Regions from separate parts of the Homo sapiens genome. Here region 2 is linked to region 1. Evidence: promoter capture Hi-C in 16 types of primary human blood cells and fetal thymus (Javierre and others, 2016). All regions are on one chromosome and are shown on one strand. The core of a region is centred on a gene start or on the middle of the fragment in contact, and the rest is flanking DNA. Distances in the headings are between cores, read along the strand shown.

Region 1 (6,409 bases), core at 133-2,632:
GAAATCCCTGCAAATGTAGTTATTCCAGAGGAGACTGTGCAATGACTGATGGGTTTAGCATCCTACATGAGGGGAAATTGCCATTCCCAGCTGTAAAATGAACAAATATCCAGTTATTTTTTTTAGCCATCTTACAGCTTAGCTAATATAACAGGATTTACAGCCAATTATACATGAAAGTTTAATTCTGTGTCAGATAAAGCATATCTTTGATGCAGAAATAGAGGCAGCATTAGGCCTTACCTGGTTAAAAGCTTTTTGCTTTCTATTCATTCATTCGTTCATTCATTCATTCAAACCTATACTTACTGAATGCTCACTAAATGCCGGGGGTTTATTAAGAGAGATTTAAATAAGATGGGATCTTTGACTATTACAGGTTTCAGCCTAGGGGTAAATTAGGGGAAGACAACCATGTATTCAAATAAATGTAATTAAGAGTAATGGTTGTGTGTGTATTTTACATGCTTGTCCTGTGTAAATAACACGTCCACGGTTGCACCTCTGGGGTGGAACATCTATAAAATTTAGATAATGATACCCACTTTGCATGGCTATTGTAATGAATGCTCTTATACATTTGCTATTTATTAAATAACTATAATTTCTCATCTTTCTGTTCCCACTGCCCTTAAGAGTGATTTGCATATTTAACTCAATAAGCATCTACTGAAATGAGTTGATCTGTTGATGTAAGTCTGCTCAATATGGTCTTGCTCTCAGAATATGTTTCTTGCCTTTTTGATGCTTTAGAAGGCTTTCAAGGTAAGTCAAGCAGGGAACCTGGTGGGTAGATGAGGGAATTTTCAAACACACAACTGTCTGATTTAGGATCCTACATGGACTTGGTATATAGTGTCACTTACTTGTAAATCAGATTTTTAAAATTGGAAGCAACTCTGTGATCATCTAGTCCATCTAGTCTACACCCTTCCTTTTACAAATGAAGAATCCAAGAGCCAGAAGCTCCCAGACATCCTGACTCAATGTCCTATATTTGTTGTATAGCCTCCTTTGTGGAAGTTATGTATGCATTTGACTTCACTTAATCTAAGACATCTATTTTCCTTGAACTCTTGATAGGTCTGCTGGTTTCCTCAAGGGAATCCAATCTAGCTGGATTTTAATCTCTTTGAATTGTGTCCTCAGCTATAAAAGTTTTAGCTGAGGTTTTAATGGCTGCACTTAAGTAAATCTAACAGATATACCAGGGGGTGTTCCAATTACATACACCATTAAAGGGCTTTATGTGAGGATTTTTAAAAATTACCATTAAAAAAAAAAAAGCATAGTCCATTTGCAGTATAATTTACCAGCAGGAAAGATTTCAATGTCCTGGAAAAATTCCCTATAAAAAGGAAGATAGGAAAACAGAAAAGTCACAGTACTCAACCTACTTCAAGGGAAGATTGGGATCTTTTTGGCTCTCTGCCTCTAAACAGGTAAAAGGCTTTGTATTATTTCTAGCACGAGTTTTTCTTCTTTAGATTGCATGCTATTGTATGTCTACAGGGCATTTGACAGCCCAAGGGCTAAATCCAGGTGTGACGGTATCTAATGATGTCCTGTCCTTCACTGTCCTTGCCATCACCAGCCACAGAGATCCAGGCTTTGGGGACTCCCACAGCTTATCGACCAGTGTTTGATTTAGTTTTTAGCCTCTTTCCCATCAAATGAAAATTAACTTGGAGACACATTTCATTAGAAAATTAGAGGCCCCCTTGGCTAGGAAGGCATCTGGTCTGGGACTAACTACTTTGAACAGTGTTGAGTCCTCTCTCCCACAGATGGTTCAGCCAGCAGTAATGCTAGGAAGACTGAAGGATAAATAGAAAAATGTCATTAGTACCATGGGGTAGCCATGTAATGTCAAGCAATTTTATATTAGCCAGAGATTCCTAGTAGGAGCTACTTTTCTTAACAGATGACTCAGTTCTCTTTATCTCAGGAATGAAAGAGTTGAAGACCAATCCACAACAGGGGAAATGTTAAGGCAAAATGATGAACTTGATAAGGGATGAATTATGGGGTTTGGATAACCAAACAATAAAAATAAAAGTATAGACTATTTTAGTACTAAAAAGGTCCTGAACATGTGAGCTTAAGTACTCATTTTGTCCCCAGTGGCTAAGAAACTAAAGGCAAGCCAGCAAGTGTCTCTGAGTTTCAGTGTCTGTATGTAAAAACTGACTCTGACTTCCATCTTCTGCAGGGTTAGTGATACAGATGCTAGCTTTTTCACTAAAGAGGTCTTTTAGTTTATACTCAACCTTGTCTGGATCTAATTTGATTGTGCATTCATGTGCCTTAGAATGAAGCCAATTCAAAAACTCCTAGCTGGCCTTATTCTACTGACTTGGTGCGTGGAAGGCTGCTCCAGCCAGCACTGGTCCTATGGACTGCGCCCTGGAGGAAAGAGAGATGCCGAAAATTTGATTGATTCTTTCCAAGAGGTAAGTTTCTCTCAGCTTCAAAATAAGACATAGTGATTTTATTCAATTTAACTATATTAAACATTCAGGATAGCCCCAATGTCAATATTCTATGATGTTGTACCCTAGATGCTCCAGGTGAGATAAGGCACTTACAAAGTAGAAGTCCCATTCCTACTTTCAGTTCACACAGGGACTAAACAAAGAGCTGGAAAAATTCCAAAAGAATATATTAATAGCAACAAGTGTGAGACAGCACGTCATACTCTGAGTGTATGGGATTGCTAAAGGAATTAGAAACAATGGGATAGGGTCAAGGTCTGTATCAGAAGATGATTCTTTGGGATTTGGAAAAAACGTTAGAACTTCGTTTTTTTTTTCCTCATTTCATCTTTTAAACATATCTATGCTATTAGATCAGTACATTTTTATAATTTATAAATGAGTATCCTTATCAAGGATGCATGCCCTATAATTTCTTTTCACTGATAGGGGCATTTAAGCAAAGTTGGAGACTGGTAGAATACAGGAATTAGCAAACTCAAGATGATAAGATAACGTAGTAGAAAACATGCTGATTTAAATTCATATAGATTAGATTATAGGACTGGCACCAACACTAACGTGAGGTACTTGCTTTCTTGTTTTTTGGGGTTATTTTCTAAGACAGGGTCTCGCTGTGTTATCTAGGCTGGAATTTAGTGGCACGATCACAGCTCACTGCAGCCTTGACTTCTTGGGCTCAAGTGATCCTCCCACCTCAGCCGTCTGCATAGCTGGGACCACAGGCATGCACTATCACACCCAACTAATTTTTAAAACTTTTTATAGAGATGGGGTTTCCCTATGTTGCCCAGGCTGGTCTCAAACTCCTGGGCTCAAGGGATCCTCCCACCTTGGCCTCCCAAAGTGCCGGGAGGATTTTTGTTTATAAAATATGACCACTCATCAGGGTCATGTAAGGAAAGAAGCCATCTATGTTAGCTGATTAACCTGAAAAATAACCTAGGACTGAGAATGGGAAAAATTTTAAATCATTTCATTATCATTGGAAGGAATTATCTCTTTTCTGAGAAATAATAAAGATAATTTAGTATTAAAGAAGACCCAGAATCTGAAGCCTCTTCTCTGCAGGTTATACATGAAGCAAATCTCATTGAACTATAACATATTTAGTAAAACCTAGAAAATAAAAACCAACCTTTTTTTACAACTATAAACTCTTGGGGGTTTTTTGCTTTTTGTTTTTTTGGGTATACTGACTCTCATGAGGCTCAAAGTGCCTCCCTCTTTTCATCTTTAAGGGGAAAATATGATATCTTCTTACTGTCTCCATTATCTCCAGATCCCCATGCCATTCAGTAGAAATGTCAGATGGCAGATCTGTGTCCTTAAAGTCCCTATGCTAATCCTGCAACTTTCCCAATCTCCCCCAGCCCCACATCCCCCTTGACCCCACTCTCCACAATTTTTTGGTGGAAATGGAAAACACCATTTCATTTCTTTATCTCCATCTCAAAGCATCACATTCTCTTTCTTCAGATAGTCAAAGAGGTTGGTCAACTGGCAGAAACCCAACGCTTCGAATGCACCACGCACCAGCCACGTTCTCCCCTCCGAGACCTGAAAGGAGCTCTGGTAAGTTAAAGTGATCATAACATGATCACAGCATAGAGCTCTAGAGGTGGATAAGCCTTTGGGGATCACTTAGGACAGCTACCTCCCAGATACTGTGGGGCTTACATTCCTGACTCCTCTGTTACCTCCTGTGGTAGGACCGTGTTTCATGACAATCCCAGTTGGTGGTTAGACAGCACTAGGGGCTGAAACGTTTTTTTGTTTGTTTGTTTTTTCTGAAGTTGAATTGAAATCTCTCTGTAACTTTTATCTCTTAATCCTGGTTCTAGCTTTTGGGATAACTAACAAAACAAATTTCTTCCCACTGCTGCATTTCATTTCTTCAAGTAAAATCACCAAACCCCCTAGACTACTCCACTCCAGGCTACTCCACAGCCCTCCACCTGATCCTGCAACTGTGCTTTATCTTACATGGTTTTCCAGAACCTTGGGGAATAGAGACATGAGAAACACTGCTGTAGATGGGTTTTTTTTTCTCTTCTTTGGAATGAAAAATGCCAAACTACTAAATTTATAATTTAGAGAGTGATGGACTTGATTTCCAGTTTCCTGATAGGACAATAATCACCTCCAAATTCCGCCCCCCAAAATGGAAATACACTAATCATATTAGGTTTTTGATGAAAAAGTATAAAGAGAATTGAATGTATAAATTGAATCTTTTAAAAAAATTATTTGTTGAGACAGGATCTTGCTCTGTTCCCCGGGCTAGAGTGCAATGGTGCAATCAATGCTCACCACAGCCTCAACCTCCCAGGCTCAAGCAATTCTGGAGACTAGATTAGCCTCTCTAGTAGCTGGGACTATAAGCACTTGCCACCACACCCAGCTGATTTTATTTTTTAATTTTTTGTAGAGACAGGGTCTATGTTGCCCAGGCTGGTCTCAAACTCCCAGCCTCAAGATCCTCCCAAAGTGCTGGGATTAAAGGTGCAAGCCACTGTGCCTGACTTAAGTTGAATCTTGGATTCAATGTTGATATTCTCTGATCTCTATTGTCCACTTATCTGCAGCAATCAGAAGGCATTACAGTTAATGATCAGTTATGCCTAGGAGCTGGGAAAGCCCAAATAAATCATATATAAAAATAAGCTGTAATTTTAATTGTCTACAGTGACTTCAACTTAATATACCCACAGAACAAAGAAAAAAGTGGGCAGACGTCGTTATTTCCTTTTTCGTTTTTTTTGGAGTGCAGTGGCGCAATCTCGGCTCAATGCAACCTCCATCTCCTGGGTTCAAGCGATTCTCCTGACTCAGCCTCCCGAGTAGCTGAGATTACAGGCATGAGCCACCACACTGGACTAATTTTTGTATTTTTAGTAGAGATGGGGTTTCACCATGTTGGCCAGGATGGTCTCAATCCCTTAACCTTGTGATCCGCCCACCTCGGCCTCCCAAAGTGCTGGGATTACAGGCATGAGCCACCACGCCCAGCCTATTTCCTTTCTTTTTCTAATCTTGCTTACTGCATTACAAAAATGGCAAGCAGTGAAATTTGTCAAACATGACATTATGAAGAAATTGAAGCAAAGGCTGGTTTAATAGCAAAGTAATTGACCAGACTTTTTTTTCACTTCCTTCCTCACAACTCATCCTTAAACTATTAATGTAGATTTTATGTATATTAAGTGCTTAAAAAGACCCAATCGGCCAGGCACAGTGGCTCATGCCTGTAATCCTAGCATTTTGGGAAGCCGAGGTAAGTGGATCACTTGAGGCCAGGAGTTCAAGACCAGCCTGGCCAACATGGTGACACCCTGTCTCTACTAAAACTATAAAAATTAGCCAGATGCGGTGATGCATGCCTGCAATCCCAACTACTAGAGAGGCTGAGGCACGAGAATCATTTGAACCTGGAAGGTGGAGGTTGCCATGAGCTGAGATCATACTACTGCACTCCAGCCTGGGTGACAGAGTGAGGTTCTGTCTCAAAAAAAAAAAAAACCAGAAAAACAAACCCAATTTATCATGTCTCCCTAGCACTAACTAGAGCACAAAATCAAACAGACCAATTCCTTCCAGACTGATATTTTAGAAATTAAAATGTCAAAATGTAATGAAATTCAGCTGGTAAAGTCAGTCTTGATATATTTGTTATATATTTTTCAGGAAAGTCTGATTGAAGAGGAAACTGGGCAGAAGAAGATTTAAATCCATTGGGCCAGAAGGAATGACCATTACTAACATGACTTAAGTATAATTCTGACATTGAAAATTTATAACCCATTAAATACCTGTAAATGGTATGAATTTCAGAAATCCTTACACCAAGTTGCACATATTCCATAATAAAGTGCTGTGTTGTGAATGAAGTGGCATACCTGTTAAATCTTTCT
Region 2 (6,089 bases), core at 1,673-4,172, 680 kb before region 1:
TTTTAATAGAGACAGGGTTTTGCCATGTTGGCCAGGTTGGTCTCGAACTCCTGACCTCAAGTGATCCACCCTCCTTGGCCTCCCAAAGTGCTGGGATTATAGGCGTGAGCCACCGCGCCCAGCCTCTGTGTCTATCCTTATGCTCATAACACATTGTCTTGATTACTGAAGCTTATGGCAAGATTTAAAGTCAGTTATTGTAAACCTTCAAATTTTGTTCTTGTTTTTCAAAATAGTTTTGGCTATTCTAGTCTTTTCCATTTCCACATAAACTTTGGAATTAACTTATCAATTTTTACAAAAAAGTCTGCTGACATTTTTATTGGATTTGCATTATATCATGTAGATCATCTTGGGGATAATTTACATCATAGCAATATTTAGTTTTAAAATTTATGATATGGCATAACCCTCCAATTATTAGGTCCTTAATTTATCTCAGCAGTGTTTTAAGGTTTTCATTGTGTAGGTTTTATCCATATTTTGTGCATACTTATCTTCAAGTATTTCATGTTTTTTGAAGTGTACAATTTAGTGGCATTAAGTATATTCACAATGTTGTGTAACCATCACTACTATCTATACCTCACATTTTTATCTATAGCTATGAATTTGCCATTCTAGATACCTATTCTAAGTGGAGTAATACAGTATTTGTCTTTTTATATTTGGCTTAATTCAGTAAGCATAACGTTTTCGAGGTCCAATCCATCCATGTTATAGCATATATAAAAGTTTTGTCTTTTTATAGTTAAATATATGCCACTATACAAACATACTGTAATTAATACTGTATTTTGTTTATCCATTCATCTGTTGATGGATACTTAACACTGTTTCCACATTTTGTCTATTGTGATTAATGCTGCTGTGAACATTGCTGTGTAAATATCTGTTCAGGCCAGATGCAGTGGCTCATGCCTGTAATCCCAGCACTTTGGGAGGCTAAGGCAGGAGGATCACTTGAGGTTAGGAGTTCGAGACCAGCCTGGCCTACACAGTGAAACCCCATCTCTACTAAAAATACAAAAAGTAGCTGAACATGATTGCGGGCACCTGTAATCCCAGCTACTGGGGAAGCCGATGTGGGAGAATCACTTGAAGCAGGGAGATGGAGGTTGCAGTGAGCTGAGATTGCACCACTGCACTCCAGCCTGGGCAACAGAACAAGACTTCGTCTCAAAAAAAGAATCCTATATCATCTCTATCTCTATCTCTATCTCTATCTCTATCTCTATCTCTATCTCTATCTCTATCTCTATCTCACCTCTATCTATCTGTATATCTATATCTATAAATCTGTTCAGGTCTCTGCTTTCAATTCTTTGGATATATACCTAGGAGTAGAATTGCTGAGTCATATGATGATTCCATGTTTAACCTTTTGAGAAACCGCCCAGCTGTTTCCCACAGTGGCTGCACCATTTTTCTTTCCTACCAGAAATACAAGGTTTCCAATGTTATCTACATCTTCGCCAACACTTATTATTTTCTGTTTTTTTTCTTAAAATTTAAAAATTACAGCCACTCTAGTAGGTGTGAAATGTTATCTCATTGAGGTTTTGATTTGCATTTCTCTAACGACCAATGATGTTGAGTATCAGTTCATGTGTTTATTGGTCATTTGCACATCTTCTTTGGAGAAACGTCTATATGAATCCTTTGCCCATTTTTGAATTGGGTTATTTTTGTGGTTTTTGTTGAGTTGTTTATATAATTTGGAAATTAATACTTTATCTGATAAAACATTTTCCCCCATTCAGTAGATTGTCTTTTTTGCTTTCTTGATAGTATCTTTTGATGCACTAAACTTCTTAACTTAATTGAAGTACAGTTTATCTATTTTTTCTTTTATTGCCTGTGCTTTTGGTGTCATATCTAAGAATCCACTGCCAAATTCAAGGTCATGATGATTTACTCTGTGTTTTCTTCTAAGAGTCTTACAGTTTTAACTCTTAATTTTAGGTCTGTGATTCATTCTGGATCATTTTTTATATATGGTGTCTAGTAAGAATCCAATTTCATTCTTTTGCATACGGATATCTAGTTTTCCCAACACCCTTTGTTCAAAAGACTGTCTTACCCCATTAAATGTTTGGACACCCTTGTTGAACATCAATAAACATATATGTGAGGGTTTATTTCTGGGCTGTTTTATTCTGTTGGTCCCTATGTCTGTCCTTGTGCCACTGTTATATAGTTTTAATTATTGTAGCTTTGTAATAATTTTTGAACAGAAAGTGTGAGCTTTCCAACTTTATCTTCTTTTTTAGGATTGTTTCGGCTATTTGAGACTCCTTGCAACTTGACTCTTTTAAATCATTAAACCAACTTTGCATTCCTGAAATAAATGTCATTTACTCATAACATATTATTCTTGTAATATATTGCTGGCCTTGTTTTTTGGATTTTTTTGCATATTTTGTTGATGATTTTGCATCTAAGTTAATGAGGGATAGGTTGTAGTTTCCTGTTGTTATGAAATCTTTGTCAGATTTTGGTATATGGGTGATACTATCCTCATTGAATGATTAGGATATATCTGCTTCTCTTCTATTTCCCAGAAAAGCCTATGAAAGATTGGCATTATTTCTTCTGTAAATGTTTAACATAATTCACCTAGGAAGCCATGCAGGCCTGGAGTTTTCTTTGTAATTTTAAAATTTTGAATTCAATTTCTTTTATATATAGGGCTATACAGATACTCTATTTCCATTTGAAACTGTTTTGGTAATTTTTATCTTTTAAGAAATTTGTTCCATTTATCTAAGTTGTCGAATTTATTAAGTTATTATCCTTTCTATATTTTTAATTTTTGTACGTGATTTATCAACTTTATTAAGCTTATAAAAGAGAATCAGTTTTGCTGTTATTGATTTTTTTCTGTACTATTCTTCTGTTTCTATTTCATTGATTTCTGCTTTTTTATATTCTATTCCTTATACTTACTTTGGGTTGAATTTGTTCTTCTTTTTTCTAGCTTCTTAAGATGGAAGCTTAGACCGTTGATCATATACCCTTTTTTTTGTCTTCCAAAATAGCATTTAAAGTTTCAAAACTCCCTTGGAGCACTGCTTTAGATGCATCCCACAAGTTTTGTGCCTTGTGATTTCATTTTCATTTAGTTTATTAACTATGCATTTGAGATTTAAAAGATATCTTCCTGTTACTGATTTTCATTTTCTTTTCTGTTGTGGTTAGAGAATATATTCAGTATGGTTTTAATCTTTAAAATTTGTTGAAACTTGTATTATAGCCCAGCATATGTTCTATCTTTGTGAATGTTTCAGGTGCACTTAAACAAAAACGTATATTCTTTTGTGGTTGGGTGAAATGTTGTATAAATGTAAATTGATTAAATTGCTACATAGTGTTTTTCAAGTCTTTTATCTCTTCAATAATTTTTCCATGAAGTTGCTCTAGTAATGACTGAAGAAAAAATAATCAACTCTTTTTCTCTAATTGTGGATTTCTTCTTTCAATCTTTTGAGGGTTTTTATGTTGTTGTTGTTTTGTTTTTTGCTTCGTTTATTTTGAAATATCTCTTTGGTGCAAACACATTTAAGATTTTTTTACAACTGAATGATAAGTAGTTCTCTTTATTAATATGAATTTTTTTCCCTCTAGTAATAGTCCTTGTTCTGAAATCTACCATGTCTCATTTTAGTGTAGCCATTCCAAGTTTCTTTTGTTTCATGTTTGTATGATATCTCCTTTATCCTTATGTGAAGGAGTATATTAATTTTTGAATGTTAAACTTCTTTATATTCCTGGGATAAACCCCACTTGGTCATGAGGTATTATCCTTTTCTTATATTTCTGTCTTCTACTTGCTAATGTCTAAAAAATCCTGGTCTGTAATTTTATTTTCGTGGAATGTATGTTGGATATTAGCCTATGATTTTCTTTGCTTTCAATGACTTTTTTTTAGGTTTTAGTATCAGTGCTATGCTGGCCTCACCAAATGTGCGGTGAAGTGTTCCCTCTGGCTGAAAAAGCTGTTAAGACTAGCATTAATTGCTTAAGTTTACCAAATTATCTGGGCCTAGAGTTTTCTTTGTAGAAAGAATTTTCATCACAAATTCAATTTCAGTGATATCAAGCCATTCTTTCTATATCTTCTTGTGTCTGTTTTGGTGAGTCATATTTTTCAAGGAATTTGTCCACTTCCTATAAGTTGTCAAATTTGTTGTCATTTAGCCATTAATAACATTTTCTTATCACTTTATTATCTCTGAAATCTTATAGTGTCCTCTCTTTTTTCATTGCTGGTAGTAACTTGTGTCTTTTTTCTAATTTTCTTACTCAATCTCGATAGAGATTTATTAATCTTATTGATATTTCAAATAACCAAATTTTGGCTTCCTTTTTTTCCTACTTTTCATTTCATTAATTTCTGCTCTTTATTATTTCCCTATTTATACTTGTTGTATTCATCTGTTCTCATGCTGCTAATAAAGACATACCCAAGACCGATTAATTTATAAAGAAAAAGAGGTTTAATGGACTCACAGTTCCAGATGTTTAGGGAGGCCTCACAATCATGGTGGAAGACAAAGGAGGAGCAAAGTCATGTCTTACATGGTGGCAGGCAAATGAGCGTGTGCAGGGGAACTGAACTTTAAAAATCCATTAAATCTCATGAGACTTATTCACTTTAAGAACAGCACAGGAAAGACCCACCCTGATGATTCAATTACCTCCCACCAGGTCCCTACCACACGTGGGGATTATGTGAGCTACAATTCAAGATGAGATTTGGGTGGGAACACAGCCAAACCATATCACTTGTTTTGCATTTAATTTGCTCTTCTAGCTTCTGAGGATGGAAACATAGCTCATTAATTTTAAACTTTTCTTGTTTTCTAATATAAGTCTTCAAATTTCCCGGGAATCAGTGCTTTAGCTATATCTCACAAGTTTTTATATGTTGTGTTTTCATTATCATTTAGTTAAAAAATTTTAAAACTTATTTCATTATCTTATTTGGTCATTGAGAATATGCTGTTTAATTTCCAATACTTAGGAGTTTTCTAGATATCTCATTGTTATTTATTCTTAATTTTAATTTCATTGTGGTCATAGAACATGTTCTGTATTTCAATCTTTTGAAACTGTTGACACTTATTTTATGGCCCAGTAAGTGTTCTATCTGAACATTCCATATGCACTTGACAAATACACATATACGTTAAGTGGTTATAAGGTATACGCTTCTATAAAAGTCAATTAAGTCAAATTGGTTGATAGTGCTGTTCAAATCTAAATCCTTACTAAACTTTTGTCTGTTGCTTCTATTACTAGGAGATTGGTATTAAAATCTCCAACTATGATTATGGATTTGTCTGTTTCTTCCTTTGGTTCTGTAAGATGTATCTTATTTTAATATTTAAGATCCGATATAGATGCATACATATTTAGGATTGTTTGTAGTCTTGATGAATAGAATCTTTCATCATTACCAAATCACCTCCCTATCCCTGACAATATTCCTTATCTTAAAGCCTACTTTGTCTTGTAACAATATAGCCTCATCATCTTTTGCTTTCTGGGTACATGTTCCTTTTTCTCTATCTTTTTACTTTTAATTTGCTGTGTGGTGGCCTCATGGAGGGCAGGATTAACTTCGCTGCTCAAAATAGGTTTGGATGTCAAGACTGATGATGCCATTCTTATCAAGAGGGTATGAAAAAATTTATTACTCACATAATGGGACTTTTTCAGGAGAGCAGGGTAGGTACAAGGGAGTCAAGAATGGCTTCAGCCAAGAGGGTGACTGGGACAAGTGAATTTGGTTTATGTTGTGGCTGGGGGTGGGCCAGTGTAGGAGACTTGTGTGGTTTGAACTTTCAGTATCAAGGGGACAGAGGAGAGCCTGTGGGCTTTCTTACTGGTTTGCCTGTATGTGGGACAAAAGGGGCAAGGGTGGGGCTTGTAAGCTGTCGGCAGCCAAACATCAAGAATGGAGTCAAGGCTGAATGTGGTGGCTCACACCTGTAATCCCAGTACTTTGAGAGGCTGAGATGGGCGGATAAGTTGAGCCCAGGATTTTGAGACCAGCCTGGGCAACATGGAGAAACCCCACCTCT

Evidence for each region. The method cuts DNA at HindIII sites, captures the fragments that hold promoters and counts their contacts. A CHiCAGO score of 5 or more calls a contact.
Region 2: a fragment that was not itself captured here is called in contact with the fragment with the promoter of GNRH1 in region 1 in 1 of 17 cell types (total CD8 T cells); the score reaches 5.2 in total CD8 T cells.

What each region holds. Positions count from the first base shown.
Region 1 is chr8:25,419,234-25,425,642 of GRCh38, reverse strand. It overlaps GNRH1 (gonadotropin releasing hormone 1), which reads left to right and starts at 1,382. Exons shown (of 4, transcript NM_001083111.2): 1 at 1,382-1,442; 2 at 2,312-2,453; 3 at 3,975-4,070; 4 at 6,183-6,385. The coding sequence starts at 2,313. The coding sequence ends at 6,224. The HindIII fragment of the contact is 12,746 bases long and covers 257-6,409 here.
Region 2 is chr8:26,098,435-26,104,523 of GRCh38, reverse strand. No RefSeq gene overlaps it. Among named protein-coding and RNA genes, the nearest start is that of EBF2, 56 kb to the right of the region's middle. The HindIII fragment of the contact is 153 bases long and covers 2,846-2,998 here.